Regions from separate parts of the Homo sapiens genome. Here regions 2, 3, 4, 5, 6 and 7 are each linked to region 1. The links are contacts of gene promoters, found by promoter capture Hi-C in blood cells and fetal thymus (Javierre and others, 2016). All regions are on one chromosome and are shown on one strand. The core of a region is centred on a gene start or on the middle of the fragment in contact, and the rest is flanking DNA. Distances in the headings are between cores, read along the strand shown.

Region 1 (2,856 bases), core at 1-2,500:
CCTCAGCTCACCGATGAGAGCCACCGATGGTAGGCAGCCTCCAGGCCTGGGGGAGAACCAGCAGATCCTCACCATCTTTAGGTTAATAAGTGAAATAAAACCTGTGAGTCAGGCTGCAGTCACGGCCTCACCCGGCTCAGGGAAGGAGGGAGAAATTCCTCAGGGCTCCCTTTTCTGATGTTGCCTTGCTTTGTACTTACTGTTCCTTTTCCTGTTCAGCTGATGACAGATGTTTGACATTAAGCATTTTAGAGTTTTGTTTTTTAGAAAATAGAATCATAGATTATCAGAAGTGGAAGTCCCTTTGGAATAATTTCCCCTGGGTTACACAGATGGCTATGGCAGGGTCAAGGGAGGGGACGGTCAGCGGGGACTGAGCGCAGGCCCCCTCCAGGCTCTGCAGCAATGACCAGGCAGCAAGCCGGCCTCCCGGGCTTGTGGGCTGTCCTCTTTCTCTGGGGTCAGCCTGAGGCTGGAAGAGGCCCGTGGCCCACCGGGCATCAGGCCAAGCCTGGAGCTGACCAGGGAAGGGCCCTGCCAGGCCTTGGGCCTCTGACCCTCAGTCCTGAAGCCTCCCTCTAGCGGCGCCCACCCTGCTCCTTTTCCTGCTGAATTTTACTCAAGTCCGTACTTGAGTATGGCCGGCCCTAGGTTAACCCCGCAGAGTTATTAACCAGGAGTGGCTCTTTCCACCCCCCCTTCCCGCCGGCCCTTCCTGCTGTCCACACCCGGCCAACTCCACTGTCCTGGCAAGGGAGGGCTTCCTGGAGGCGGCAGCGGGCGGCGCGTCCGGCCTTTGTCCCCCCACGCTCTCCAGGGTAGGTCCAGGGACTGCCAGATCAGGGGACCCTTTGCGTCCTGGAGCCTTGGGGGCTGGATGACGTCGCCGGGCACCTGAGGACCCCGCCCATTCCTCCCTCGGTTCCCCAGGGAGCGGGCGGCCGGCGGGGCTGGGCGGGGCCGAAGGAAGGGGCCGCTTGCTCCGACGCCGCGCACGCGCCAGGGCCCGCAGGCGGGTTAGGAAATGACGACCGCGCGCGGGTCTCCAGCAGCACCCGCCCTAGGACCGGCCCCGCCCCCAAGTCCCGGTCCCTAGGGCCGGGCACGCCACTCCAGGCCCCGCCCAGAACCTCCCCGCCCAGTCAAGCCCCGCCCCCAAACTCTGTCTCCCCGCGGTATCCTCTGGGGCTCTCCAGGCCCCGCCTCGGCTCGGGCCCCGCCCCTCCAGGCCCCGCCTCCAGCCCCGCCCCGCAGACGGCGCTCGCAGCGCCCCCGGCCCCCAGGCGGCGCGGCTGGTCCCCAGGGGTCTGCGGGCGACTGCGCGGCTGAGGCGCCCGAGTGCGGTACTGGCGGCGGGCGGCGGGCAGCCATGGCGGAGGCCGCGTCGCCGCACTTGTCGCTGCCCTCGGGGCTGCTGGAGCTCTGCGCGCTGCTGGGCGCCCCCCGGGACAGTCTCCGAAGTCTCGAGCAGGTGAGGGGCGGGGAAACTGAGGCGGACGTGGGCCACGAGTCGGCAGCCGGGACAGCAGTCGGAGAGCGGGCGCCCGGGTGCCCTGTGGGTTGGCGCGGACTTTCCGAGGGCTGAGTCCCGGTCCCCCGGCGGTGACCCCGCGCGCCTGTGGCCGGGGATCGCGCCCGAGCTCAGGCAGGTGCCCTGGAGCAGCGCCCTGCTCCCCTCCCCTCTTCTCTCCTCTCCCCGCCCGGGGCCCTTGGTGTGAGACATGTCTTTTGAGAGCTGCGAACTTGGTCCGCCGGCCGGGAATCTGGGGGTGCCGCCCCTCGGAGAGTCTCTGGGGCCTCTCTCTTCAGTCGCTCCCATCTTGGGCAGGTGCTTCTGAAGGTGGGGTGCACCAGACAACGGGCGGAAGCCGCCGGAGCCTCACGGTCTAGCGGGCCCAGCCCTCGCTGCTGAAATGATTTCATTCTTTATGCTGGGATGTGTTGTCCCCTGAGTAGTGGGTTTTGCACCAGGCACAGAATAACGAGAGAGCAATCTTAGAGTTAGCCGCCGGCCTCGCGTATTCTGCATGAACCCCTTTGCGATGAAGCCTATAGCTATTTTTCTCCCTTGCGGTACCACCCCCACCCCCAACCCTTCCTCCATCTCTGCACCCTCGCAGCCAAAGTGACAACTTCATCTCCCTTCTGCTGGGAAAGCGGCAGTTTTGGAAATTCTCGTTTTCCTTTTTCTTCCCCAGCTTTTCTTAATTCTGTAACGCTGGCTTTCCCTGGAATCCATCTGTGTCTCTGGTTTCCTCCTGGTCCGCCTGTCTGTGACACCGTGACTGGGTCATGTTACCTAGAGATCCCGGCGTCACTGGCCAGCCGTCTGCACAGGTCCGTTCATCTCTTTGCAGACAACAGCATAGAAAGGCAGAGAGGCTTCTGAGTATTTAAATGACGCTGGGCTATCCAGGGAAAATGAAGACTGCAGGGCAGAGGGTGTCACCAGGAAAGGCAGATGTTCCTGCAAGTAACCAGATGAATGTCTGTGAGTGTCCGGGGAGTTTCCCCTGCTGGGCGTCAGTACCAAGCCAGTTTCGACTTCAGTGAAAAAGCATTCTCCTATGGAAATAGTTTCCTCGTTTCCCTCAACTTTTCCTTCCCTTCAACGCCCTGTCATGTCAGTAGATCCCGTTTGACCTCTGTCTCCTCGCAACGTCATCGATTGATTTGTCTCCCTACCTCGAATTTGCCAGATGGCATCTCCTCCTTTTTCTTCGAATAGGAAGTGACCTAGTTGCCGCTGTGGTCTCCTCAGCCGTTGAACGTCTTTCCTCTGGGGCAGTTACAACATGGGTGTTAGTTGCTTGGTGTGACACATGTCTTTTGAGGGCAGGGCGAATCAACTGGAAT
Region 2 (4,170 bases), core at 1,237-3,736, 240 kb before region 1:
GAATTCCCTTCCCCTACAGATACCAGTTGTTTATAGCATAGTTTGTTCTTGCAGAATCCCAAATCACTGTACATTTTCCCATTCCTATCAGAAGGATGATTTTAAATTGAACACAACGTTACTTCCCATTACCAGTCTTCCCACTACCAGCTTGGTAACAGTAATTAGTATTAATCCAACCCAACACACCTATATTTTAACAAACTACATGAACTGATTTTTTTCCATTTACTATTACAGATTCAGATTTACCAACCATTCCCTACTGACTCATGACTAGTACTGAAACCTGAGGATATGCTATTTATTTAGAAAAGTTCAATGTACCAGTCAGAAAAATTTTAAGGGGTTTTGAATGGGATAAGAATACTGTCCAAGTACTCAATGGTGGTGTAATCTTAAGCAGCATCATACAGTATTTGCCCAGTACTTGCCTGGTGTATGGGCATGAAATTATTTGTTCTAGTCCTTGTAATGTCTTTTTAAAAAATAAGCTAGGTACAGAGATATCAGTAAAGTGGGGTATGGCTTTGAATAGGTATAATCTTTGGCTATCAAATCAATATCTTTGTGGTTATTTGTCAATTAAGGCTTTCTACTTCTGTGGTCAATGTTCCTAACATATTTCTCTCAGAAATATTCCATTTCACCTTGGATGCCATATAGTCATTCAACAAAAGTACCTATACCTACTGAGCACTTGGCTGTTTGCCTGCTAGACACTGTTAAAGACATTGGCAATAATACCATGAAGTACAAAGATCCCTGATGTCACAGAACTTAAGAAGTTGGGGAAGAAAACAGCTAATAAATGAGCAAACAAATCAAGTACAAGACGATGTCAATAATAATGATCTGAAGAAAATAAAATAGTGACAGAAAAACAGCAATGGTGAGGCATAAGGGAGCATTCTTAGACTGGCATGCCCTGGCAGGCAGAGTTAGTAAGGGCAGGGTGAGAACAAGCAAGGAGCCACATCCCGTAGGTCCTTGTAGGCCACAAAAGGAATCTGGCTTTTAGTCTGGGAGAAATGGGGAGCTCTTGGGGGGATTTAAGCAAATCACTGATTCGGTGATTAGTATGTTAGAGAAACAGGAAGCAGAAAGAAAAAGTGAGTGACTAGGACAGAGGTGACAGGGCATGATGGGACAGGATGGGGGAGATGGGTGAGACTCTCAAAGGACGTGCATGTTGACTAAATGAAACCGGGTTCTGAGTGGAGGAGTGAAGTGCTCTGGCTTTCATCTCTCCAGGATCATTCTGGCTGCTGGGTTGTCAACAGACTAAGGAGAGCAAGTAGGGAAACAAGATGTCAGTTAGGATACCATGCCATAATGTATGGAAGAGACATTTTAAGGCAGCTACTGAAGAAGAGCTCAAAGAAAGGGGTAGCAGTGGAGGCAATATGAAATGGGTAGGTTCTGGATATATTTTTGAAGATAATGTGGACAGGATTAGCTAATGTATTCGATATGGCTTGAGAGCAAAAGAGGAATAAAAGACGATTGCAAATGGATCTGAGTAACTAAAAGATGAGGTAACCCTTTGACTGGAGCACTGGATGGTTATTTTGTAGCAAGAAGTGTAAAGACAGAGAAGTGAGGTACAAATGTTGGGGAAAGGGAAGATATAGAAATGTGTGGACTTTTCCAAGTACTGCAGGTTGAAGAAAGTGGACGAGGTATGAAATGGTTGTCTAGGAGAGAACAAGATGGGGGGATAGAGCATGACAGCTGGGTAGCACTAAGGTTGCAAATCTAGAATGTAACCAATCACAGGATGGCGACAGGTGGAGAATAGGCAGAAGGTTGGATTAAATCATGGTGGTAGATTCAAGAGACTACGGGGACATTAAGAGAGGTACAAGACAGCATACAAGGCAGCAAGTATGACAATGGACCACTGTCTCTTGCATCCTGCTACAGTATTTTCTTATGGGCTCAACTTTTTTCCACGCTGCATTATATCATCTAATTGTTTTTTCAAAGAGAGCCCATGCTATTAGCTTTCTATGTCACTACTTCTCTGCAGATACCTTCATTTCACATTATCTTGATTAATAATTTATCTGATATAGACTTCTAAAGTACATGTTATTTTCCCTGAGCCCTTTGAAGATACTGTTCCAATGTCTTCTTGCATCCAGCATTGCTGATGAAAAGTCTGGTGTAAACGTCATTCTTTCTCCTAAGTAGGGAATTTCTCTGGTAGAATTTGGAATTTTATGTCATTATTTTTCTGAATTATCACTGCCATGTTTCTAGATGACTGGTCTTATTCAACATTGTACAGCCTGGGTTTCTCTTGGCTGTTCTAGATTGACCCCACACTTATCTCTAGAGCTGCCTGAAGCACGGTACTGACACTTGGCCAAAGCTATGGCCAAGATAAGTGATGTTTGTGATCATGGGACCCTGAGCTGTTTGGGGGGCAGAATATACCAGCTTGTCAGTGCGATTTTGTAATAATAACTGGACTGACAAGGTGTACCTGATTTTGGCAGTACCTGGGGAGGTCCACAGGTTGAGGCTGGCTACGTAGATGGAGAGTGCTTGTGTGACCCTCTCACAGATCCCCACCACTTCCTCATACTGAGGTGCTTCACACATAAGCCAGTAATGGTTTCACATCTACAGAAAAATCATGTCCAAGGCCAAGAAGCCTGTACCCAAGATCTCCAGATCACTTCAATGAGTATCATTTTACTACTGTTGCTGTAATGGATTTTGCCTATAAACTGTGAAATCTTGCAAATCTTTTCAACAATCAAACATTAATTAACATACAATTAGCACACATAATTGTAAAAGCACTAATACTTATTAACTGAAGCATGATAAAGGCTCTATAATGAAATGTTACAAAAATCCAGATATTCTTGGTGAAAACAAATCTTTAAACTCCTCAAAAAGTTTTGTTTTTTCTGAACCAAGCAGTCTTTCTGAGAATTTGCTTTCTACAGAACACCACTGTCCAGCAGAAATATAATGCAAGCCACATAAGTAATTTTAAAATTTCTAGTAGTCACAGTAAAAAAATAAAATAAAAACAAACAGGTAAATTCAATTTCAGTAATATAGTTCAGTTAACCTACTATATCAAAAGTATTATCATTTAACATGTAATCATAACACATTGATATATTTTATTCTGTTTTCTTACTCTTTGAAATGTGGTATATATTTTTATACTATAGCACATGTCAATTCAGACTAGCCACATTCAAGTGCTCAACAACTGCACATGGCTACGATAATGGGCAACGTAGCTATAATGAGTTTAAGACTGAATCGAGTTATTCAGTACCTGAATAACAATAAGCCGTATCATTTCAGAAAATAGTTGTGTGGCATCCCCTTTGATGCTATTCAATGGTCAGTTTCTTTCTGACAAGTAATTATACTTGGATTCTTTACTAATCTAATCCTTAAATCTAAATCCTACAATCCCCACTTCCTGTTCTAAGGTCATCAGGCCTTCAAATGCTGTCATGTTTCTTCCATTTTTCTCTTTCCTGACAATACTCTGTATCCATAATGTTCCTTTGTCTGATACCTCTTATGTTGTTCAGTCCCTTTGTTCAGATGTACAAATCCACTCATTAATTTACAATTATGATATTGCATTTTCAAATGTTATAGCATTAAAGCATTCAATGGAAGTTGGTTATGAATAATATCCAATCTTCCATTACAGTGACTCAGTATCATGAGAACCTCATGCTATCCCAGGAAAGGGCTATGGTGAATTCAATGCCAACTGTGATTTTTCTGCCTCAATCTGAAAATCACTGACTGATAATTTGCCAATTACTGTGAAATAAAACACGTTGTTTGTGGCCACATAGATTTGATCAGATTGATCTTCACAAGTTTGCTAAATGAGTTCTGATAACTTATACATTTGTATCTGATGTAAATTTTTCTTCACAATATGAATGTATGACTAGGAAGTTTTTAACATTGGCTAAAGGCTAACATGCCTGCAGTGACACTGACTCTATGGTAGTAATCCCCTTACATGCAGAAAGTTTGATACTAAAACCATGGCACATCTGTTAAAATCTTTCCTAGGTGAGTCTTCTGATGTAAGTCTTGAACATTTTTGCTAAATGTCTTGTCAAATTCATAATCTTTGAAAGGTTTCCCTCCTGTATGAATGCCCTAGAG
Region 3 (4,170 bases), core at 1,179-3,678, 200 kb after region 1:
ATTTCACAGGTGGGCTCAGAGAGACGCCTGCTGGGGCACACGGCTAGACAGCAGCAGGCTGAGCTGAGAATATGCCCACCGGGGGTGGGGCGGCAGGGCTGGAGGTGCCAGGGCTGCTCCCCAGGTGGGGTGGGACCGGGAGAAGAGACATCGATACCCCTGTGGATGCCTGAGGTCAATTAGTCGAGGAGGAGGCAGAGGAGGAGGAGGCAGAGGAGGAGGAGGCTGTTGCAAGGGCCAGATTTTGAAATGTAGCTGCAACAACTGCCCTGGTAAACTTGATTCACCCCACCAGGCTGGGAGCCACCTTCTCCCGGAGCCTCCTTCTCCAGGGAGGGCTACAGCCCCCAGCCCACTTGAAGCAGGGGTCCCAGCCCTCTTCATCTGTAAAATGGGGTGGAGAGTTTCTTTCTTGGGGTGTTGTGGGTTGAACTGTGACTCCCCAAATTCAAACTGAAGTCCTTAGAATGTGACCTTATTTGGAGGGAGTCTCCACAGAGGTAATCAAGTTGAATAAGGTCGTTGGAGTGGCCCTAATCCAATGTGACTGTGTCCTTGGAAAAAGGGAGATTTGGAGACAGATGTGCCACATGAAGGAGAGGATGGCCCTCTGCAAGCCAAGGAGGCAGGCCTGGAACGGACCCTTCCCTCTGGCCCTCGGAAGAACCCAGCCTGCTGACACCTTGATTTCAGACTTCTGGCCTCCGGAGCTGTGAGGCAATAAATGCCTGTTGTTTCAGCCGCCCAGCGAGTGGAACTTTGTTCTGGCAGCCCCGGCAGGTGACAGGGGGTTGTTAAGGTTGTTTAGATGTGTGCGAGGCACGGAGCGACGCCCAGAAGACGAGGGCCTCCGGTGAGTGTGAGTGATTCCTAAACACGGCACACAGCCAACAAAACAAGACAACACCAAGACCGGGTGTGAGGTGGGCGGGAAAAGCAGGACTTGTAGTTGACCTCTGGGTCCTGGGGATGGGGGCGGGCACCAGGCATCATGATGGGTAGGAGCACAGCTGAAGGCCGGGGCCCTCGGGGGACACACTTAGCCCCCCTGTGCTTCGGTTTCCCCCTTGGCCAATAGCACCCACCCAAGGGGTTGGAGGATTACCTAAGGCAGGGGTTGGCCAACTCTTTCGGGAAGGGCCCAGGGAGTAAATCTTTTCTCCTTTGCGGGCTGTGAGGTCTGTGTTGTAAGACTCACTTCTGCAGCTGCAGTTTGCACGCAGCCTTACAGCAGATGTAAAGGAGTGGGTGTGGCTGAGTTCCCAGGAAACTTGATTCGTGGACACTGAAAGCAGAACTTCATGTAATATTCTTGTTCTTTGGTTTTTGTTTTGTTTGTTTGTCTTTTGAGACAGGGTCTCGCTCTGTCACCCAGGCTGGGATGCAGTGGCACCATCTTGGCTCACTGCAGCCTCCACTTCTCAGGTTCAAGCAATCCTCCCACCTCAGCCTCCTTGGTAGCTGGGATTACAGGCTCACATCACCACGCCCAGCTAATTTTTGTATTTTTAGTAGAGACGGGGTTTCACCATGTTGGCCAGGCTGGTCTTGAACTCCTGACTTCAGGTGATCTGCCTGCCTCAGTCTCCCAAACTACTGGGATTACAGGTGTGAGCCACTGCACCTGGCCCCTTCTTTAGTTTTCTTTTCAACCATTTAAAAATGTAAAAACCATTTTAGCTTGCAGTCCTACAGAAACAGGTGGCTGGCCAGCTTTGGTCTGAAAGCCAGCCCTGCCCTAAGTGAAGGAGCCCTCTCAGCACTAAGAGGCGCCGGGCCAGACCTGCTTATCGATCACCTTTGGGCCCAGTGTGGGGCTGCTGCTCCGGAAACAATTTTTCTTTTTCTTTCAAGATTCACCAGCTCTGTTCAGGAGGGTGGCCAGCTTGGCGACCTGGACATTTAATCCTCCAGCCAAAGATTCCCTTCTGTGCGGCAGCCCTGAGGGGGCTGTCTAGATGACCTCACTTGAGCTGAGTGACTGCCTGGGATGTGGGTCCCGTGAATGGGGCACCTGTTTCACAGATGAGCAAACTGATGCTCCGAGGCAAGTTACTCAATCCCCTGACCCCGGCACGGTGCCCCGCCTCTTGGAGCCCAAGCCAGCGGGGCTGAGGCAGGGGCTGCTGGGGGTGGACAGGGGAGGTGGGCTTGGGAGCACTGAAGAAAGGGTGACACTCCAGGCATCTGTGAAAGCCCAGAAGACATCCCTAGACAAAGGAGGAAACAGGGTTAGGGAAGGGCACTCCTAGAGAAGGAGCAGCTTGCAGAGGCCCAGTAGTGGCACCACAGGGGCAGCTGGAAGATGTGGCACCACGGGGGCAGCTGGAAGATGTGGCACCACGGGGCAGCTGGAAAGTGGGGTTGGTGGGCAGAGGTGAGACTGAGTCCTGGGAGAAGTCCACACCGGACATGGGAGACTTTCCCCTGACCTGATGGGCTTTATTTAAGCAAGGAAGGGACTGGTGTGAATTAGATTGGAGACACTCCCTCTGTCGGCACAGAGACAGCACTCTCCACTAGAAATCTCATGCCAGCCTCGTGAATAATTTCTAATTTTCTATCAGCCACGTTAGGAAAACGGAAAAAGAATTTGATGCAAATTATTTTAGTAATATATTTTATGGAACCTAATATATCCAATATATTATTTAAACGTGTCATTCATATAACAAATTATGAATGAGATATTTCACAGTCTGTCTCATACTAGGTGGGGACATATTCCACGCTTACCGTACAACTCAATTCGGACTGGCTGCACCTCATGTACTCAGAAGACAGGCTGCAGTCTTGTATGACATCTTGGATGAGACTCAGGCCGCAGTCTTGGATGACACATACGTGGACATCGGGCTGTGGTGGCCGGAGTAGAGTCAGAGAGGCTGGAAGGAGGCCCTTTTCCAGGGCAGGAATGATGGTGCCTGGCCTGGAGCTGTGGTGGGGTTCCTGGCCCTCCATTCAGCTGCCAGCCCATCCCAGCTTGCACCGGAGGGAAGCAGCGGGCCTGGGCTCTGCGGCATCCCAGGGGGGCAGGTCACAGGGCAGCTACCCTACCCCAGCCTCCTCCCTGACCCCGCCGGTGTCTGCCCAGACAGCCGGCATCCCCATCCCGCTGGGCTGGCTCCCGGCCCTGCCCTACCCCCAACTCCAGACTCATGTCAGGCTTCCTGTCCCAGCCGGAGGGTGACCCGAGGCCTGACCCCAGAGGCCCAGGCGATGGGCCCGGAAGGAAGGCCGCCTCCTTGATGCAGCCACAGCAGGCGGGGCTGGGGCTTCCCCATGGACTCCCTCGGGAAGCACTTCACACTTTGGTGGGCGCTCAGCCAGGGCGGCCCCCAGCAGCGGCAGGAGGCGAGGGCCTCTGGGGCAGGGAGGACATGCACCTGCGCCTGGGCCTGTGAGGGGCTCCCCCACCACAGCGTGGGGTCTCTGGGCATGCCAGGGTTGCCCCCACTAGACAGCCAGGGTTCTCAGGGAACACAGAGCAGGCAAGCAGGCCGGCTTCTGCTTCAGCCTCAGCCCCTGTCCGCACCTGGGGCAGCACAGGACAGGTTTAGGAACAGACCCTAGCTGCACGCCTGGTGAGGACCTTCACCTCTGGGCCTCCCGCTGCTCCTCTGTGAAAATGGAGGTATCGGGGTGTTCGTCCCTTCTAGGGCCAGAGAGAGATGGCAGCGAATGCACGTGGTCCCTAAAGGAGAGCCGTCCGTGGCCACGTAGGAAAGTGTCAGGCCCAGCTCCTCATTCCTGGGATGTGGCCTTTTCTCACCTGCGCTGAACTCTGCTCTCAGGACTCAAACCCTGAGCTGCTGTGGAGGCTAACTCACTCATGCTCCAGGCCCATCTTCTGAATAAGTTTCCCAGACCCTCCAACCTGCCCTCCGTGTCGGCCCTGGGGTGCCTGCCTCTCCTTCCCTCTTCCTCTTCTTCTCACAAATATGGGCCGAGCTCATGTGATACGTCAGGCACTATGCTAGGACGTGGGGGTCCAGCTGGAAGGGACAGGACAGAACCCTGCCCTCCTGGAGCTGGCAGTCTGTAGCAGACACTAATCAGTTAAACAGATCACAAACTGTGACTGTCTCCAGCAGAGACACCTGGTTGGCCTTGGGGGAGCACATAGCAGATGGATGGGGGTCCCTGCCCAGGGCTGCCGGCAGGCGGTGC
Region 4 (4,170 bases), core at 505-3,004, 190 kb before region 1:
CATTCTACTCTTTCCCCCACTGACCCCATTCTCCTCAACCACATGACTCTCAGGGGTTTGTGAAACTAGAAATGTTTCTGCTCAATGCATGTTAAACATAATCACGCAATTTTTAAAGTTTCACTCTAAGAATAAAGATATTTAACATTTCTTTTTTTTCTTTTTTTGAGATAAAGTCTGTTGCCCAGGCTGGAGTGCAGTAGTGCAATCTTGGCTCACTGCAACCACCACCTCCCAGGTTCAAGCAATTCTCATGTCTCAGCCTCCCAAGTAGCTGGGATCACAGGCGCCCACCACCACACCCAGTTTATTTTTGTATTTTTTAGTAGAGAGGGGGTTTCACCATCTTGGCCAGGCCAGTCTCGAACTCCTGACCTCCAGTGATCCACCCGCATCAGCCTCCCAAAGTGCTGGGATTACAGATGTGAGCCACCATTTCTTTTTTCAGGGACCAGAACTACAGTAAGCAAAACTGTCAAAGCCATATCTAGTTTAATTGAAATAATTACAATGTAATTTTTACACTGGACCAGCAAACTCTTGAATTCATAAAATGTCTGAATTTCAAAGGAAGCATGCCATATAAAAACTTGTTAGCAAAATCAATAAATTATGGATATTTGCATCTTCTATGATACAGCAGAAATAATGTATTCATTCACTCTTTTTCTGTCCAAGGATCCTGACTAACAGCAGCAGAGACTAAAATCAACTGCCTCATCAGGGTACAACAGAAGACAAACAAGACGGGGGTTTGTATACAGCTAGCTTACTAAGAGTCTTCCTTCCCCTTTTTTTGAGATGAAGTCTTGCTCTGTCGCCCAGGCTAGAGTGCAGTGGGGCAATCTCGGCTCACTGTAACCTCTGCTTCCTGGGTTCAAGTGATTCTCCTGCCTCAGCCTCCCAAGTAGCTGGGATTACAGGTGTGTGCCACCACACCCGGCTAATTTTGTATTTTCAGTAGAGATGGGGTTTCACCATGTTGGCCAGGCTGGTCTTGAACTCCTGACCTCCGATGATCTAACCACCTCAGCCTTCCAAAGTGCTGGGATTATAGGTGTGAGCCACCGCACATGGCCCCCTGACTTTTTAAAACCAGGATCTCTAACAACAGTAATGAAAAAAAAAAAAAAGACTTGAGATTTCTAAATCCAAGACAGATGCAACAGCTGGCAATAGAAGAGCATTTCCTTTAGAAAAAAACAGAAGAACTGCATAAAATATAAAAATCATCTGTTTGAAGACAGCAAGAACAGGAGGGGCTAAAAAACTTCAAAACCACAGAAGTTCAGCTGATCTTTTGCATTTACTTTTACCTTTGGTATGTATTTACCAATTCTGAGAAGAAGAAGCAGGTGGAGAATCTAGGCTGTGCATTCACAGAAAACTGCTGCCAGAAGACAGAAAAATCAGGCAAGGTTTTGGAACGCTAAATCCTAGAGCATTAGTATTCTTACTGTATAAAGGTGTATTTATTGTCAAATATTATTCTGCAATGAAAAGGAATGAAGTACTGATACATGCTACAACATGGATGAACCTTGAAAACATTATGCCAAGTGTTAGAAGCCACAAGAGACCACATACAGCCTGATTCCTTTTATATAAAATGTCCAGAATAGGCAAATCTATAAGAAAGTAGGTTAGTGGTTTCCTTGGGCTGAAGATAAGGAATAAAGAGTGACTCCTGGTGGGTATGGGGTTTTCTTTTGGGGTGAGGGAAATTTCTAAAATTGATGGTGGTGATTGTACTCATTGTATAGTATGAGAATTATACGTCAATTTAAAAAAAAAGACACAAAGCCTCTAAAGGCAGTGAGTAGAGATTTTCAAGTCTTACAAGACAAAGATTAAAGTGCCACACACGAGGAAGATAAGGAAAAGGAGCCGATAAATATAAAATAAATGACATAGAGCTAAAGGACAAAAAAAAATACCTTTAACAAATAAAAGCCACCAGTTGGTATTCAGAAACAACAAGTTCTAGAAGATCAACCAAGAAAGAAAAAGAAACACAAATAAATAACTAAAATTCCTAAATGAACTATAAACATTACAGAAAAGAAATCATATATCTAATAAATCATTGGTCTAAAATCTTGTTTACAATTATAAGAAATTGAAGATAAACCCTTGGCTTTCCCCTCAAAACCTAATCCTGAAACAGATTTCCCCAAATCAGTAAATAGCACTGGGGTCAGTGTCATGCGCCTGTAGTCCCAGCTACTCAGGAGGCTGAGGCAGGAGGACAGCTTAAGGACAGGAGTCTGAGGCTGTCAGCATACCATGATCACACCTGTGAATAGCCACTGCACTCTAGCATCCTGAGCAACATAAGGAGACTTTGTCTCTAAAAAATAAAAAAATAAATTTTTTTTTTGAAATTAGCAACTCCATTCTCCTAGCTGCTAATGAAAATACCTTGACATCATCCTTGATTCCTTAACTTTAGAACACAACCATCCCAACAAGTTTCTTAAAATTTACGTCACGCCTCTGCTCAAGATCCTCCAGTGGCTTCCCATCTGACTCAGAACAAATGCACAAGACCTCACAATGGCCCAGAACGCTCTAAGAGATCTAAACCACCCATGAGAAATAACACCTCCCCAATGTTCCTGCTAAACGGCCTCAAAAGTTTTAAACAAGTAGTGTTTATCAAGTTATATTCTGCTAAGCCTCTGCTATGACAGTGATGAAATTTTCTGACCATCTGTTGTTATAGACTTATTCCTATTTTCTGCATATAAAGTTCACTTCTGAAAACAACTCTCTATTGATCTCTCTCTAGCAAGATGTTTTCTTTTCTGTAGGGAAAAGAAAGAGATATCAAAATGGAGTTAGAGAGATTAGACTGTTACTGTGTTTATGCAGAAAAGGAGGACATAAAAAACTCCATTTTGAAGTTTGAATCAGCACTGCAATTACAACATTAACAAGTGACACATGATCTTAAGTAAGTTGTCAATCAGAGGTTAAAAGTATTATCACAATTGTTAAATGTGTATAGCTAATTAGAACTATGAGAGCATTAAAGAAAGGGGGAGATAGGAACAACTTTTCAACAACATATAAATGTTTATTTTATATCTATTAGACAAACTGTCCATAAACGATAGAACCAAACAGAAGGAAAAAAGCTACTTTACACCCATGAAATGTCCCAGGGCCCCAGAGCATATTATAGCAGGAGCTACTGTGGAAAAGAAAAAATGATTCATATCAACAACTCAAGAAGGAATCAAGAATCAGGATTACAATTCACTGAAGGCAAGCACCCCAGGTCCAGAGGTAAGCACCTATGCCTCAGAGTGACTTATCCTGACAGATTCTTAGAGAGCATAAATAACACCTAGGCTGCGATGTATCCATGGTTCTCTGGCCTCAGGACCCATCAACTGTAGACAGGTCCTCCCAGAAGAAAGTTATTAGTACCTCGCCTGAATATAAACGGGGTTATCCTATACTAGAGACAAGGGAAGACGGGGAGGGGTTCAAAGCTGAGTCCAATGCCAAACTGGCTTGCAAAGACCTCTATCTGAGATTCACTCTGTTATTTGAAACCAATAAAATGAAAGTTTTTTTCCTAATGCGCTGTTCATGTAATCTCAATGCTCAGTATGTCCTCATCTTTTTTTTTTTTTTTGAGACAGAGTCTCGCTCTTTGCCTCGGCTCACTGCAAGCTCCTCCTGGGTTCATGCCACTCTCCTGCCTCAGGCTCCTGAGTAGCTGGGACTACAGGCATCCGCCACCACACCTGGCTAATTTTTTGTATTTTTAGGAGACACAGGGTTTCACCGTGTTGACCTTGTGATCCACCCGCCTCAACCTCCCAAAGTGCTGGGATTACAGGTGTAAGCCACCACACCCGGCCTGTCCTCATCTTTTAAGAGTAGATCAGAGCCTAGGCAACAAAGTGAAACCCCATCTCTCCAAAAGGAAAATTTTTAAAAATAAGCCAGGCATGGTGGCATGCATCTGTAGTCCCGGCTACTCAGGAGGCTGAGACAGGAGGATTGCTTGGCTACAAGTGAGCTATGATAGTGCTATTGCCCTCCAGCCTGAGCTGGAGTAAAACTCTGTCTCTAAAATTAAAAAAATTAAGTAGGTCAGAACCTTCTAGTTTTGTGAATTCAATCTTTTTAACTAATAAAATCAATTGTGGGAAA
Region 5 (4,170 bases), core at 676-3,175, 170 kb after region 1:
CCAGCCATGGGTCAGATGCCCTCCTCGGGGTTCCCAGGCCTGCCCCATCACCCTGGCCAGATGGCTGTCTTCTCAGGCACCTGCCTTGAGCCTGGCACTGAGCAGCCACCTGGGGACCATCTCCAGAATGGAACATACCACAGCAGGCCCAGTCCCCTGCTAGCTCACAGTCTGAGCCTAGTGACAGTGCCCAACAAGAGGGCAAAATTGGGCACCAAAGGCTCAACCCAGCAAGCCAAGTGGCCAACCCGAAAGAAACAAGGAAACAAATTGGAGCGGCAGCACCTCCTCCCTGACCTCCGCAGGAGCCAGGGAGCCAACCCAGAGGGCAGTGCCAGCTGGGCACAGCTGCCCATACCTGTGGCAGCCAGGAGTCCTTCCTTCCAAGCTCTTGGCCAGGGAGGAGGGGTGTGGGAACTAGCATGCTGCGTGGGCCAACAGCAGGGCTGGCCACAGAGCCCCCTCCAGCAGCAGCTACCTGGCATGGGGAGTGACCGCAAAGGTGCCTCAAAGTCGAATCCAAGGCATGGAGGGCACTGCTGCATTTCTCCACGCAGAAGACAAACGGCACTTTTCAGTGGGGGGTGGGGGGAGCTGATGAGCAGTGCGACCCAGTGGCCCACAACTGCACTAGGCCGGCCGTATCCGGTGGCTCCTCTCCCTCACCAGTGCCCCCACCAGGCGCTGCTCCAGAGGTCCCAGCTGGGCGCCCGGCACGGATGCAGATGCCGCACTGTCTAGCAGCGTGAGTGCTGCTGTGACCCCTTCTCAGGCGCTTACTGAGTGCTGGAGACAGAAACCCCTCACACACCCTGGTTACCACACGGAAGCAGAAGCTCCGAGCACTGGGTGGCTTCTGGAAGGTCACAAAGCCAAGGAGGGCCCAGCCCGGACTATAAACTCTCCCTGCACCCCACCCACAACGAGGACGCCAGGCTTCATGATGTTTCTACGGAAGGAGAAAGCGGACGGGGAGCCCCGTGCCTTTAAGAATTAAAAACACTCTCGACACCTCAATAGTTCAGTAGTGGACTAGACATGTTTTCAACAGCCTTGATATTCCCTTCGGCTTACCTAGGGAGACACCTGTCACACTAGAGACACCAGCTCCAGGCTGCAAGTCCATAACAAGACCACCTGAGCTGTGGGTGTCGTTCTCGCCACCAAATCAGAGCTGCCCTTCAAATGGGCACGGTTAGGGACAGCAGAGCGGCCGTGGCCGCAGCCCCGGGATCCGGCTTCATCCAGCAGAGGGTGGTGGTGCGCAGGCCCTGATGGGGGAGGACTTCCACACTCCAAGCTTTTAATGCCGTTTTACGTAAGCAACACGAAAAAAACCACTAGCAGTTATTCTAGTACTCCTGGCTGGGAGCGGATTTGCATACTGAAGTAAAGCCTCAGGTTAGGGCAGGAATTTCTAGAACCAGCTGGACTCTGCTGTACCTGTTCTTCTTCAGCAGCCAAAACGTTTCTCAAAGTCTTTTAAGAGACTGAAACATTGATTTCAGTATTAATACCCAAAATACCACGAAAATATAAGGATTTGCTGCTTTGGAGAAGGGACCAATGGAGGATCCCCTTTCCAGGGTGATTTAATCCGGTTCTGTGGGGGTAATTAGGGGCTGGCCTGTCTTCCTGGTCCCGTTCTTCACTGTTTAAACCGCAGGATTCCTAGAACACGACCGTGGAACTGCTCTTCTCCTCACCCATCCCTGGAATGAAGGCACTGGCCCCATGATCTGACGACATCATCGCCTCCCCAAATAGCTGCATGGCCGAATTGGAAGTGACGCATTCTTAGTGGACTCCTAATGGCCAGCCCTGAGGACAGAAGACAGGTTAAAACTTCAGCCGGACCCACATTACCGATTCCACAGAGTTGGGCGAGTAGCCTGCTTTCCTCCAACAAAGCTGGGAGACACCAGAGACCCCAGGTCCGTCAAATCTCCTCTTATGTCATAAAACCATCACACAACGCAAAGTTCTACTGCTCTCAGTCCTCAGCGTGCTGTTTCTGAGTGGGATGGGAAGTGGTGGTTTTTTGGTTACTAAACTGATTTTCTTACCAAATTTCATTAGGTCTAAAGGCTAAAAATAGTAAATCTTTCTACTTTTTGAGCATCTCCAGATTTGAGCAAATTCTCAGGGATGCCAAGTGTCAACGCCCCGGACCAGCCTCATCTGGTTCTCGGGCAGAGGCCCACCTTCCCAACCCACCCCATGGCCCTGATCCTAATGGCAACCTGATGGCCTGAGACCAGCTGCCTCGCTCCGGAACAGGCACAGCGATGCCCTGTGCAGGAAGAAGGGCGGAGCAGGGTGACCAGATTCCTGCCAGGCAAAAACCTCTAGCAAATCTAAAGTCTGGCCATGTCAGTCTTCTCTGCTTCTAACACACCTTTCTGTCAAATTAAAATTTAACCCGAGGCACAATTCCACTGTCTTACATTTTAGCCCAACCAGATGAAAATGCCGCAGCGTGCTTACTCGTGAAATGGTTCATCTTCTGCCCTTTAACACTGCGCATTTAGAAAACAGGCAATTAAATAGTAAAGCTTAACATGGAGCAGCACGGACCCCGTGACTCGACGAAGTGGCGTGGACCTTACCCGTGGACCAAGTGTGCGAACACAGCACAGCAAGCGCCCCGTGCAAACACAGGAGCATCCTGAGGGGCCTCCGGTGTGGGGAACTCAGAGAGCCGCAAGGTCCCCACAAACGCCTGCCTAAAACTGGACTGCCTGAGAAGCTGCTGTGGAGAAAGTCCCGGTGCCCAGGGAGCCCCCACCTCCAGCCTGCCTGCCCCGCCTAGACAAGAGGAAGGCACTCTTCCCAGGGAACGTTCCAGCAACAGAGATGTACCCGGTACCAGGGACAGTTCAATTATCCCTTTAATTAAGGCACCTTAAACGGGCCCCACCCCCCAGCTCTTTGAGACCTCCTTCCGGTGTATTTTGTGCATTTAGTAATTGTTTATCAAGATCAATGATATTTATGTTTCTGTGATCAATTCTGTACTGATAATTACAATGACATAAAACATTCTTCTGGATGTTAACATAGCCTAATGATCACAGAAATGTTTTAAATTGCAATATATACTTTTGTCACAGAGAAGTATGGAGAACAGTCCATAGGTCGGGTGCAGTGGCTCATGCCTGTAATCTCAGCACTCTGGGAGCCTGAGGCAGGAGGGAGGGTCGCTTGAGGCCAGGAGTTCATGACCGGCCTGGGCAACATGGTGAAACTCTGTCTCTGCCAAAAATACAAAGAAAAATTAGCTGGGCATAAGCCCAGCTACCTGGAGGGTGGAGGTGGGAGGATCACTTGAGCCGGGGAGGTCGAGGCTGCAGTGAGCCATGATCTCACCACTGGACTCCAGCCTGGGGGACAGAATGAGACCCTATCTCAAAAAAAAAAAAAAAAAAAAAAAAAAAATCCTGGGCAACTCAGTGAGACCCCATCTCTGCAAAAAATAAAAATAAAAACTAGCTGGGCATGATAGCATACACCTGTGGTCCCAGCTACTCAGGAGGCTGGAGAGAGAGAATTGCATAGACCTAGGTGGTCAAGGCTGTAGCGAGCCCTGATCCCACCACTGCACTCCAGCCTGGGTGACAGAGGGAAACACTGTCTCAAAAAAGAAAAAAAAGAATGAGGGATGAAAAGACTTTCAAATGGAGCAAACATACAAGTTCACAAAGAAAAAAACTGCCTTGTCAAGACTGTTAAGAACAATTTGTTCATTTTTTAAAAGGGTGACTGATGGTAGGTATCATTAGGATATTTAACATTGGATACTTTTTAAAAAGCAATACAATGGTTACTTTTAAATGCCAACATTATACTAGAAATTGCATCTTTTGCAGTTGTTTCAAATTAGGACCAAAAATTTAAACATCAACTTAAAAATGTGTCTATAGTTTTTCAAAGTTTTTTTTGTTTTTTAGATGGAGACAGAGGCTTGCTCTTTCGCTCAGGCTGGAGTGAAGTGGCGCAATCTTGGCTCACTGCAACCTCCACGCCACTCACCATCACCACCACCACCACCACCACCCCCATCCCCGCTGCCCTCCCTCCCCCCGACCCCACCCCTGCCCCCAGGTTCAAGCCATTCTTGTGCTTTAGCCTCCTAAGTAGCTGGGATTATAGGCGTGCACCACCACACTT
Region 6 (4,170 bases), core at 721-3,220, 170 kb before region 1:
CTCACACCTGTAATCCCAGCACTTTTGGAGGCCAAGGAGAGTGGATCACAAGGTCAGGAGATCGAGACCGTCCTGGCTAACACAGTGAAACCCTGTCTCTACTAAAAATACAAAAAAATTAGCCGGGCGTGGTGGCGGGCACCTGTAGTCCCAGCTACTTGGGAGGCTGAGGCAGGAGAATGGCGTGAACCTGGGAGGTGGAGGTTGCAGTGAGCCAAGGTCGCGCCACTGGTCTCCAGCCTGAGCGACACAGCGAGACTCCATCTCAAAAAGAAAAAAGAAAAAAAAAAAAAGATTTGGTACTACAAATCAGTCTCACCAAGTTAATACTAGAGAGCTCACCTAACAAAAAGTACTTATAGTACACATTTTTTAAAAGGCAATGATTTAAGCCTGGTAAGGAAATTTTAGATAAAAGAAAGCAAAGGTTTCTTTTATAGGTTTAATTCTTTTAAAGATTTCATTTAGAGGTTTATCCCTTCAACCATACAACCCAACTGGAGTGGTGGTGTTTTAGGAAAACTGCCTCCTCTTTTGCAATTTATTGAGTTAGTATCTTTAAACTCAAAAATATCTGGGCCTGGTGTGGTGGCTCATGCCTGTAATCCCAGGCAGAGACAGGTGGATCACATGAGGCCAGGAGTTCAAGACCAGCCTGGCCAACATGGCAAAACCCCGTCTCTACTAAAAAAAATACAAAAATTAGCCAGGAGCTACTCAGGAGGCTGAGACAGGGGAATCGCTTGAATCCGGGAGGTGGAGGTTGTAGTGAGCTGAGATCACACCACTGCCTGGGCAACAGAGCAAGACTCTGTCTCAAAATTTAAAAAAAAAAAAAAAGGAAGGAAGAAAGGAAGGGAGGAAGGGAAGAAGGGAGGGAGGAAGGGAGGGAGGAAGGGAGGGAGGGAGGGAAAAAAATTATGTGGTTATTTTTACTCATTTCAACAAATTCTTGCTGTTTTGTGTGGCAATGAAGACAGCAGTCCCATAGTAAAGAGCTAAAGAAAACTGTGTACAAGCATCCAGCAATGCCAAAAGCTCTATCAGTATACTATGCCTACTACAAACACACATACTCTGTGAGGGGCCTGAGGGGCCTCCTGTATAGGACACACAGCTCGAGCATACTCTACAGTCATCACACCTGTAATCCCAGCACTGTGGGAGGCCGAGGCGTGTAGATCATGAGGTGAGGAGATCGAGACCATCCTGGCTAACACAGTGAAACCTACTAAAAATACAAAAAATTAGCCGGGCGTGGTGGCTAATCCCAGCTACTCGGGAGGCTGAGGCAGAGAATGGCGTGAATCGGGGAGGCGGAGCTTGCAGTGAGCTGAGATCACGCCACTGCACCCCAGCCTGGGTGACAGAGCGAGACTCCCTCAAAAAAAAAAACCACAGAATGTCCACCCTCCTTTCCCAGCATTAGTGACACTCCTCACTCATGGCAATCCTACAAACTTCCTGGCCCTTGTAGGTCCCCCCCCCCAACCCAACCTACCTAGGCTTCCTCTGCTTGCCCTTTAAGTGCTCTCCTGGGGACCCTATTCTTTGTGTTAAGTACATTCCCTTTGCAGTGCAAAAGCAGCCATAGACAATATATAAACAATTTGAATGCATCCCAATAAATACATATTTACAAAAGCAGATTTGGCCCACGTGCTATAGTTTCCTCAGCCCTGTAACAGACCACTGATACCAACACGCACGAACCTTAAGGCCTTGCCTCTCCCTCTAATACAGCCTATATATGTTCTTCCTCCTATAAATATATACCCTATAACAATGAACAGCTTATAATAGCATCTCCTCTTAACTAATTCTTTCCACGAGCTATACTCTGTGCTAAGAGTCTTAGGAGTACTCAGTCCTCAAAATAACCTCTCAAGGAATTATTCCTGTTACACATTTCCGGAAGTTCAGATTTAGAAGGTTATCTAATTTTCCAAAGTCACATAATAATAAAAAGCCAAGCTAAGAATCAAATTCAGGTGTCTGACCCCAAAAATCCTGCCCTTAACCATGACCAGTTGCCCAATCTAACTCTTTCACCTCACTTATCTCTCACCCCTAAGATCCCTGCTCTCCAATTCTATGGCCATCCATTTAATTCAAGTTACAGTGTTGCAAAAACAAAAACAAAACAAAACCTCCTAACTGATCTACTTTCTTTATTACAGTGCCCCCTTCAATTCAACTTCTTCACCAGTACCTACCTGAGTGACCTTTCCTAAAACAAATTATGTCAACCGCTCAAAAGTCTTCAACAGCTCTCATTACTTTGAGGGATATTAGAAATTCTTTGCTTTGAAAAGCAATTTTCCAACTGTGTTCCCTATTCTGCTGACATTTATCTGGGGCATCAAAGCATACCTTCTAAGCCTTTACCTCTTCCTCCTCAAAATATTTCTCATCATCCCATTCCAAATAGAATATTCCAGGGGGAACAGGGAAGAGGAGAACTTGAGGGGGGTTAGGGGGTTAAGAGGGAGAAGGAGAGAAAGAACAGAACCAAACCACTAGCTTCCTATCTCATTTTCCATCACTTGCTCATTCCTTTTCTACGGTAGGGTCATACTGAACAACCTCAACTTCCCTTAATGTGCCATGCTACTTCTTACAAACAAGCCTTTACTTATGCCAGTCCTTCTGCCTGGTAGGTTCTTCCCTTCCCCCACCCAGCTTACTCCTAATCATCCTTCAAAGTTCAGTTCAAGTGCAACCAAAAATCTGCCTTCCATGACCCTCCTCCCACCTAAGACTGATGTGGATGCACCACCCTATGCATGAATGTTTCTACCACAGGATTTAGCCCACTGAACTATAATCAATAATTTGCCTGTTTTTTAAGAGACAGGGTCTTGCTCTATCTTCCAGGCTGGAGTGCAGTGAGGAGAGCCTAGCTCACTGTAGTCTCAGACACCTGAGCTCAAGCAATCCTCCCACCTGAGCCTCCCTCAGCCACACCATCACGCGCCAGCTAATTTCTTTTTTTTTTTCTGGAGATAGGGTCTCACTCTGTCATCCAGGCTGGATTGTGGCAATGCGATCAAGCTCACTGCAGTCTCAACCTCCCAGGCTCATGCGATTCTCCTACATCGGTCTCCCAAGTAGTTGGGACCACAGGTGGGCACCACCCCCAGCCCCAGGTAATTTTTTTTTTTTTTTTTTTTTTTTTTTGGTAGAGAGGGGAGTCTCACTATATTACCCAGGCTGGTCTCAAACTCCTGGACTCAAGAGATCCACCCGTCTTGGCCTCTCTCCGCCTCCCAAAGTGCTAGGATCACAGGCATGTGCCACTGAGACCATTTCTCATTTAACTATTACTTTTCAGAACCAAGTATAATGCTAGCAACAGTATATGCAAATGCAAAGAAAGGTTTTTTCATTTATTCATGTACAGAGATCTGCTATACATTCCTGGCATCATTCCAGGAACAAAAATTCAAAGACACTCAGACCTTGCTTGCCCTTAATGAGTTTCAACTACATATTCTTTGCTCCCAAGAAAAAAGGTATTTATCCTATATCCTCTTTCTCTCCAAAAGACAGAACATTCACCAATGGCTTTACAGAATTTTGATGGTCCTGCTATCATGAACGGATATGGAAACTAAGACCTAATAATCCTTTTTTGACATTGCATGCATCATGTAATATGAAGAGTGTCGGCCTGGGCATTAGGAAACCTGATTTCTATTGTTTAGAAAAAAACACTATTACTTTTAAAGAAAACAAAATCCAAACTCTTTATTATGACCCTTACTTGTCAAGCCAAGTCTAACTCTCTAGTCTAAAGTCTCTCAGCACTGTCTCTTATGAATCCTACACTCTGGCAAAACTAAACTATTGTCAGTTTACAGAGCAACTTGTACTTTCTCTCACATCTCTATGCCATCTGCTGCTCCTTCTACCTAGATCTTCTTCCCATTGCTTAACTTGATGTACATGTGGTAGGGGCTGTTCTGTCTCACCCCAGGTTAGATGCCCCTCTCCTGCACTCCACAGCATTTCTTCACTCAATATAGGTTATTCAGTGACAGACACAAGCCATGCACTGCACAAGGTATTGGACATGCACGGTACCAGAGACATGACCCTACCCCAAAGGAATCTTGTGGTGAAGCTTACTAGAGAGGCCATTAAAATTTTGCCTTTTCTGTCAGTCTC
Region 7 (4,170 bases), core at 1,002-3,501, 150 kb after region 1:
CTGCCCTTTTCCCTTCTTTCCAGGCTGAAAGAGACCACAGGACATGGTCTGCTACAGGCCCACACGGGCTCAGAAGCTCTACTTCTTGTCTGGGTAGTTTACAGCATCCTCCCTGCCTGAGGCCCAGACAGCGCTGGGCTTCCAAGGCCAAACACCTCACGCGGGCTCCTCAGCTGAAGATATCACGGGCACCTTTCCAACTCATTAATTCCTAGGTGCTGACGTCCCCCCGGCCTAAGCACTGCCCTCCAGGATCGGATGGCCGCCTGTGAGCCAGCACAGGATGTCGCCTCCAGCAAGCTCCCAGCAGCAAGGGAAGGCAGGCAGAGCCCTTGGACACCTGCGAGCCAGGCTCTGAAGGATGCCCGGCACAGGGGTGAGGAGCCCGCGCCGCCCTCTACAGATGGGTGCGCCACGATGGCAACGGGCAATGCAAAGCCACACACGCCGGCCACATGTGGACAGACATCGTTTTGTCTGCATCCTGTGACACTGGTGAACTTCATCAGAATCTTCCTCATCTGGGGACACAAGACAGGTCCGGGTCCGGCGAGGACCGGAATGAAAGGACCATCATGGGCTACCAAAAAGACCAGTTTCAGAAATGTCAACTGATCCCTGCCCGAATATTAAAACCTTGCTAAGTGATGGACAAAGGTTCATGAAGCTGACACACAACAGTGTTTAAACCTAGAAAAATAATTAAGCCAAGCTACTCTGGACACAATGGAGTCCTCAAATTCATCAATAAACTGTATTTACTTTATGTGAACTCCAAATGATAGTGAGACCTGAAAGCTTATCACAGACGTGATAAAATCAACATGATTCACGTACTTTAGATGTTTTAGATTTTACTGTTAGTTCACTAAAAAGTCCACCCTTTTACTCTTAAAAAAAAAAATCTTCAAATTGTGTTATCTTTAAACATTTTTTTTTTTGAGATGGAGTCTTGCTCTGTCCCCCAGGCTGGAGTGCAGTGGGGCGATCTCGGCTCACTGCAAGCTCCGCCTCCCGGGTTCACGCCATTCTCCTGCCTCAGCCTCCAGAGTAGCTGGGACTACAGGCGCCCACCACCACGCCCGGCTAATTTTTTTGTATTTTTTTTGTAGAGATGGGGTTTCACCGTGTTAGCCAGGATGCTCTCGATCTCCTGACCTCGTGATCCGCCTGCTTCAGCCTCACAAAGTGAAAAAAACAATTTTTTAAGAGATAAGGTCTCACCATGTGGTCCAGGCTAGAATGTAGTGGTGCAATCATAGCTCACTGGTGACCTCAAATTCCTGGGCTCAAGCAATCCTCCGGCCTCAGCCTCCCAAGCAGCTGGGACTACAGATGCATGCCAACATCCATGTCCGACTTATAAGTCACTGTTTTAAATACAGCACACTTCTCATCTGCGAATAGTTCCAGGACACACCCTTACACTTTTGCACCTGCCTCAGCAGCAGCCCCGCCCTCTGACAGCCCCAGCACCAGGCAGCTGAGCTGAGCTCCTGCAGCACATAGGGAGCCTGGGCTGAGGCCACACTCGTGAGGCAGTGGGTTTCCCCGATGGGATCTCGGTGCAACCCAACAACTGAGCCAACTGGGACTCCTCGGTCTGTGAAACCCATGAGGACATTGGCGAGACTGGGTGAGCACAACCCATAAGGACACTAGCGGGACAGGGGTGAGCACCTGCGGTGGAAGCGGGGCGGGCGGCCGACCCACGAGGACACTGGCGGGACAGGGGTGAGCACAACCCACGAGGACACTGGCGGGACAGGGGTGAGCACCTGTGGTGGAGGCGGGGCGGGCGGCCGACCCACGAGGACACTGGTGAGACAGGGGTGAGCACCTGCAGTGGAGGTGGGGCGGGCAGCCGAAGGAGAGACAGGCCTCTGCCCCCTAGCCACCAGCAGCTGAGTGCTGACCACAGCCCCCACGGGCAGCACAGGCAAGCAAGTGGAGGAAATAGAGGAACTGTGAGTGAGCAGAAAAATGCAATGCAATCAGCTGACCAGAGAGGAAGCTGGGCTCCTTGCTAACGTCTCAACAAGGCACAGACGCACCCGCAAGGGAGTGGGCAGCACTGCAGGATGCAGCAAGGGCTGCTCAGACCTGCTGGGGGCATCCTTTGCCCCGGGCTCTGTCCCTACTGCCCCCAGGCACATTTCACTGCCAGGCTGCTGGGGGCCAGGGCTCCAGCCTCCAGGGCAGCACACCTCAGCCTGCTCTGTCCCCTTCAAGGCCAGACAAGCAAAGCCCCAGCCCCCACCTTGGCCCCCAGCCTGTGGGCACAGTTTCTCTCCACAGGCTTGGCTGGGCCTGGCTTCCACACCTTCCAGCTCCAGCCTTCACCCCAAGACCCCCACCTCTGTGACGGCTCCCACATTCTGCGGGACCCACCTCCAGGCTCTGCTGGTTCTCCTCTCACCTCCTTCCCCCACGCAGCCTGGAAAGGAAGGGCCGATGCTCGTGGGAGCCCCTGTGGCCTCGGGGCCCTGGCTCTATCCCCACCGTGCCAGGCGGCCTTTCCTTGCCTCCCATCCGCCTACTCAGAAGCCCAGGATGGCTGCCAGGTGAAGGAAACGGCTCTGGAGGGGAGCCAGGACAAGTCTGGCTTTACTGAAAAGTAACATCCGCAGGACAGACTCATAGCTGACTTTGTTTGAAGGAGCAAGTCGGCTAAGAGTGTCATTTTCCTTTACACCTGCAATCCCACGGACCACATCTCAATGCCCTCTACCCCCATTCTTACGTCTGTCACTTGCTCTTTCACATACGTTGCAAGTCTTTGATGAGGGAGGCCAGCTTTCCCTCTGGAAGGAGATGCCTTCAGTTGTAAACCGACAATTCATAAAAAGTTGGGGGCTTCGAGTACACAATTCCGCATTCCCGAGAAGCCTGCCAATCATGCAGTGGAAACACCTGACCTGGTGCATCGCGCACCCCTCCCTGGCCAGGCTGCCCTCCCTGGCACACGCCCCGCGCTGGCCGGCAACAAACAAAACCCACACGGACAAAGGAGTCTTTACAAGAACAGCCAAAACAATTCCATCTGCGAACAAAAACTAACGGCAGAATTAAAGGCTGCAAGTCCAAACACAATCTGGCTATTGTAAACAGTGCCTCAGTTTATCAATGTAACAATAACTCTTTCAAAGATTAATAAAGTTCCCCCCAAACACTCAGCAATCTAGCATTGTTAAGATACTTTGGAGGATAAATATTAGCTTGGGACTCGCCTACATGAGAAGTGAAAGCTGCCAAGACAGCAGTTCTAAAGCAAGAACCAGCGGCAGCAGCGGCGGCCACAGGGCAGCGAGGCATGGGCCCAGGCACTGCTTCCAGCCTTGCCGCACATCAGTTCGACTCCCCAGGCACCTCCTTGCACCCAGCACCACGCTGGCCCCTCACCCCGTGTCACACTCCACATGCAGCCCCCTGCGAGCTGAGCAGCAGGACTCACCTTGGGCACTGTGAGTGAGACAGAGCAAGGGCACCAATCCTCTGGGCCCCACGTGCCCCCTGCCCACCCTGTCCTGGGGTCACTGGCTCGTGAGGGCGGGACTGCGACTCTGTCTCCTGGATCCCTGATGGCCAGGCGCCTGGCAACAGATAAGCCACCCACAGCAAACAGGAATAGGTGGAAAATGGACTTAACTAAAAGGAGAGGTTTTAAGATGATTGTTGGAAATAAAAGGGAACAAAGGAGCATTCAAGCTTAGATTTGATTCCAACTTACTTTCTTGAAAGACATTTAAGTAACCTGGGTAACCAAATGCAACATGGTGTTGGGGCCAGCTCTGAGAGCAGTGGGTCACGCGGGGCCCCTGCAACATGGTGTTGAGGCCGGCTCTGAGGGCAGTGGGTCACTCGGGGCCCCTGCTATCAGCAATCCCAGGTTGAGACTCCAAACAGCCAGGCTGAGTGGGTGCTAGGCTGGCCCACCCTCTGCAGGGTGTGTTTTTGCCCCACCCGTACCTCCACCATGGGGGTTTTTGTTCGTGTAATGCGACAGCGTGCAGCTCCACACACACAGGAAGCAAGCTGTCAGGACAGAGCCTGACTCGCACAGGTAACTGGAATCCTCCCCAACAGGTGGGTGTGCAGAGAGCAGGTCCCTGTCCGGGCACCTCCCGAAGGACTGTCTTAGCACGACCTTGCTTCTCCCAGGGGAGGGAA

The links. The method cuts DNA at HindIII sites, captures the fragments that hold promoters and counts their contacts. A CHiCAGO score of 5 or more calls a contact.
Region 2: a contact is called between a fragment that was not itself captured here and the fragment with the promoter of DENND3 in region 1, in 1 of 17 cell types (naive B cells). The highest score is 5.3, in naive B cells.
Region 3: a contact is called between a fragment that was not itself captured here and the fragment with the promoter of DENND3 in region 1, in 2 of 17 cell types (neutrophils and monocytes). The highest score is 9.6, in neutrophils.
Region 4: a fragment that was not itself captured here is called in contact with the fragment with the promoter of DENND3 in region 1 in 2 of 17 cell types (naive B cells and total B cells); the score reaches 5.5 in naive B cells.
Region 5: a contact is called between a fragment that was not itself captured here and the fragment with the promoter of DENND3 in region 1, in 2 of 17 cell types (neutrophils and monocytes). The highest score is 9.9, in neutrophils.
Region 6: a fragment that was not itself captured here is called in contact with the fragment with the promoter of DENND3 in region 1 in 2 of 17 cell types (total B cells and naive B cells); the score reaches 5.5 in total B cells.
Region 7: a contact is called between a fragment that was not itself captured here and the fragment with the promoter of DENND3 in region 1, in 2 of 17 cell types (neutrophils and monocytes). The highest score is 10.0, in neutrophils.

What each region holds. Positions count from the first base shown.
Region 1 is chr8:141,127,339-141,130,194 of GRCh38, forward strand. DENND3 (DENN domain containing 3) reads left to right here and starts at 1,251. Exons shown (of 23, transcript NM_001352890.3): 1 at 1,251-1,471. The coding sequence starts at 1,370. DENND3-AS1 (DENND3 antisense RNA 1) reads right to left here and starts at 2,803. Exons shown (of 2, transcript NR_183310.1): 1 at 2,686-2,803. RefSeq lists enhancers at 1-678, 1,512-2,342 and a silencer at 797-1,656. The HindIII fragment of the contact is 7,380 bases long and covers 1-2,856 here.
Region 2 is chr8:140,884,665-140,888,834 of GRCh38, forward strand. The region is part of intron 3 of PTK2 (protein tyrosine kinase 2); the gene reads right to left. Among named protein-coding and RNA genes, the nearest start is that of PTK2, 110 kb to the right of the region's middle. The HindIII fragment of the contact is 5,639 bases long and covers 1-4,170 here.
Region 3 is chr8:141,326,399-141,330,568 of GRCh38, forward strand. No RefSeq gene overlaps it. Among named protein-coding and RNA genes, the nearest start is that of LINC01300, 12 kb to the right of the region's middle. RefSeq lists enhancers at 2,709-3,245, 3,246-3,780. The HindIII fragment of the contact is 5,383 bases long and covers 1-4,170 here.
Region 4 is chr8:140,932,072-140,936,241 of GRCh38, forward strand. The region is part of intron 1 of PTK2 (protein tyrosine kinase 2); the gene reads right to left. Among named protein-coding and RNA genes, the nearest start is that of PTK2, 67 kb to the right of the region's middle. The HindIII fragment of the contact is 8,898 bases long and covers 1-4,170 here.
Region 5 is chr8:141,298,325-141,302,494 of GRCh38, forward strand. The region is part of intron 1 of SLC45A4 (solute carrier family 45 member 4); the gene reads right to left. Among named protein-coding and RNA genes, the nearest start is that of SLC45A4, 7.9 kb to the right of the region's middle. RefSeq lists enhancers at 720-1,426, 1,469-2,318, 2,319-3,167. The HindIII fragment of the contact is 1,255 bases long and covers 1,299-2,553 here.
Region 6 is chr8:140,961,395-140,965,564 of GRCh38, forward strand. All of the region lies in intron 1 of PTK2 (protein tyrosine kinase 2), which reads right to left. Among named protein-coding and RNA genes, the nearest start is that of PTK2, 38 kb to the right of the region's middle. The HindIII fragment of the contact is 4,308 bases long and covers 1-4,124 here.
Region 7 is chr8:141,276,717-141,280,886 of GRCh38, forward strand. The region is part of intron 1 of SLC45A4 (solute carrier family 45 member 4); the gene reads right to left. Among named protein-coding and RNA genes, the nearest start is that of SLC45A4-AS1, 24 kb to the left of the region's middle. RefSeq lists enhancers at 1-301, 1,326-2,135, 1,902-1,971, 1,982-2,061. The HindIII fragment of the contact is 2,910 bases long and covers 797-3,706 here.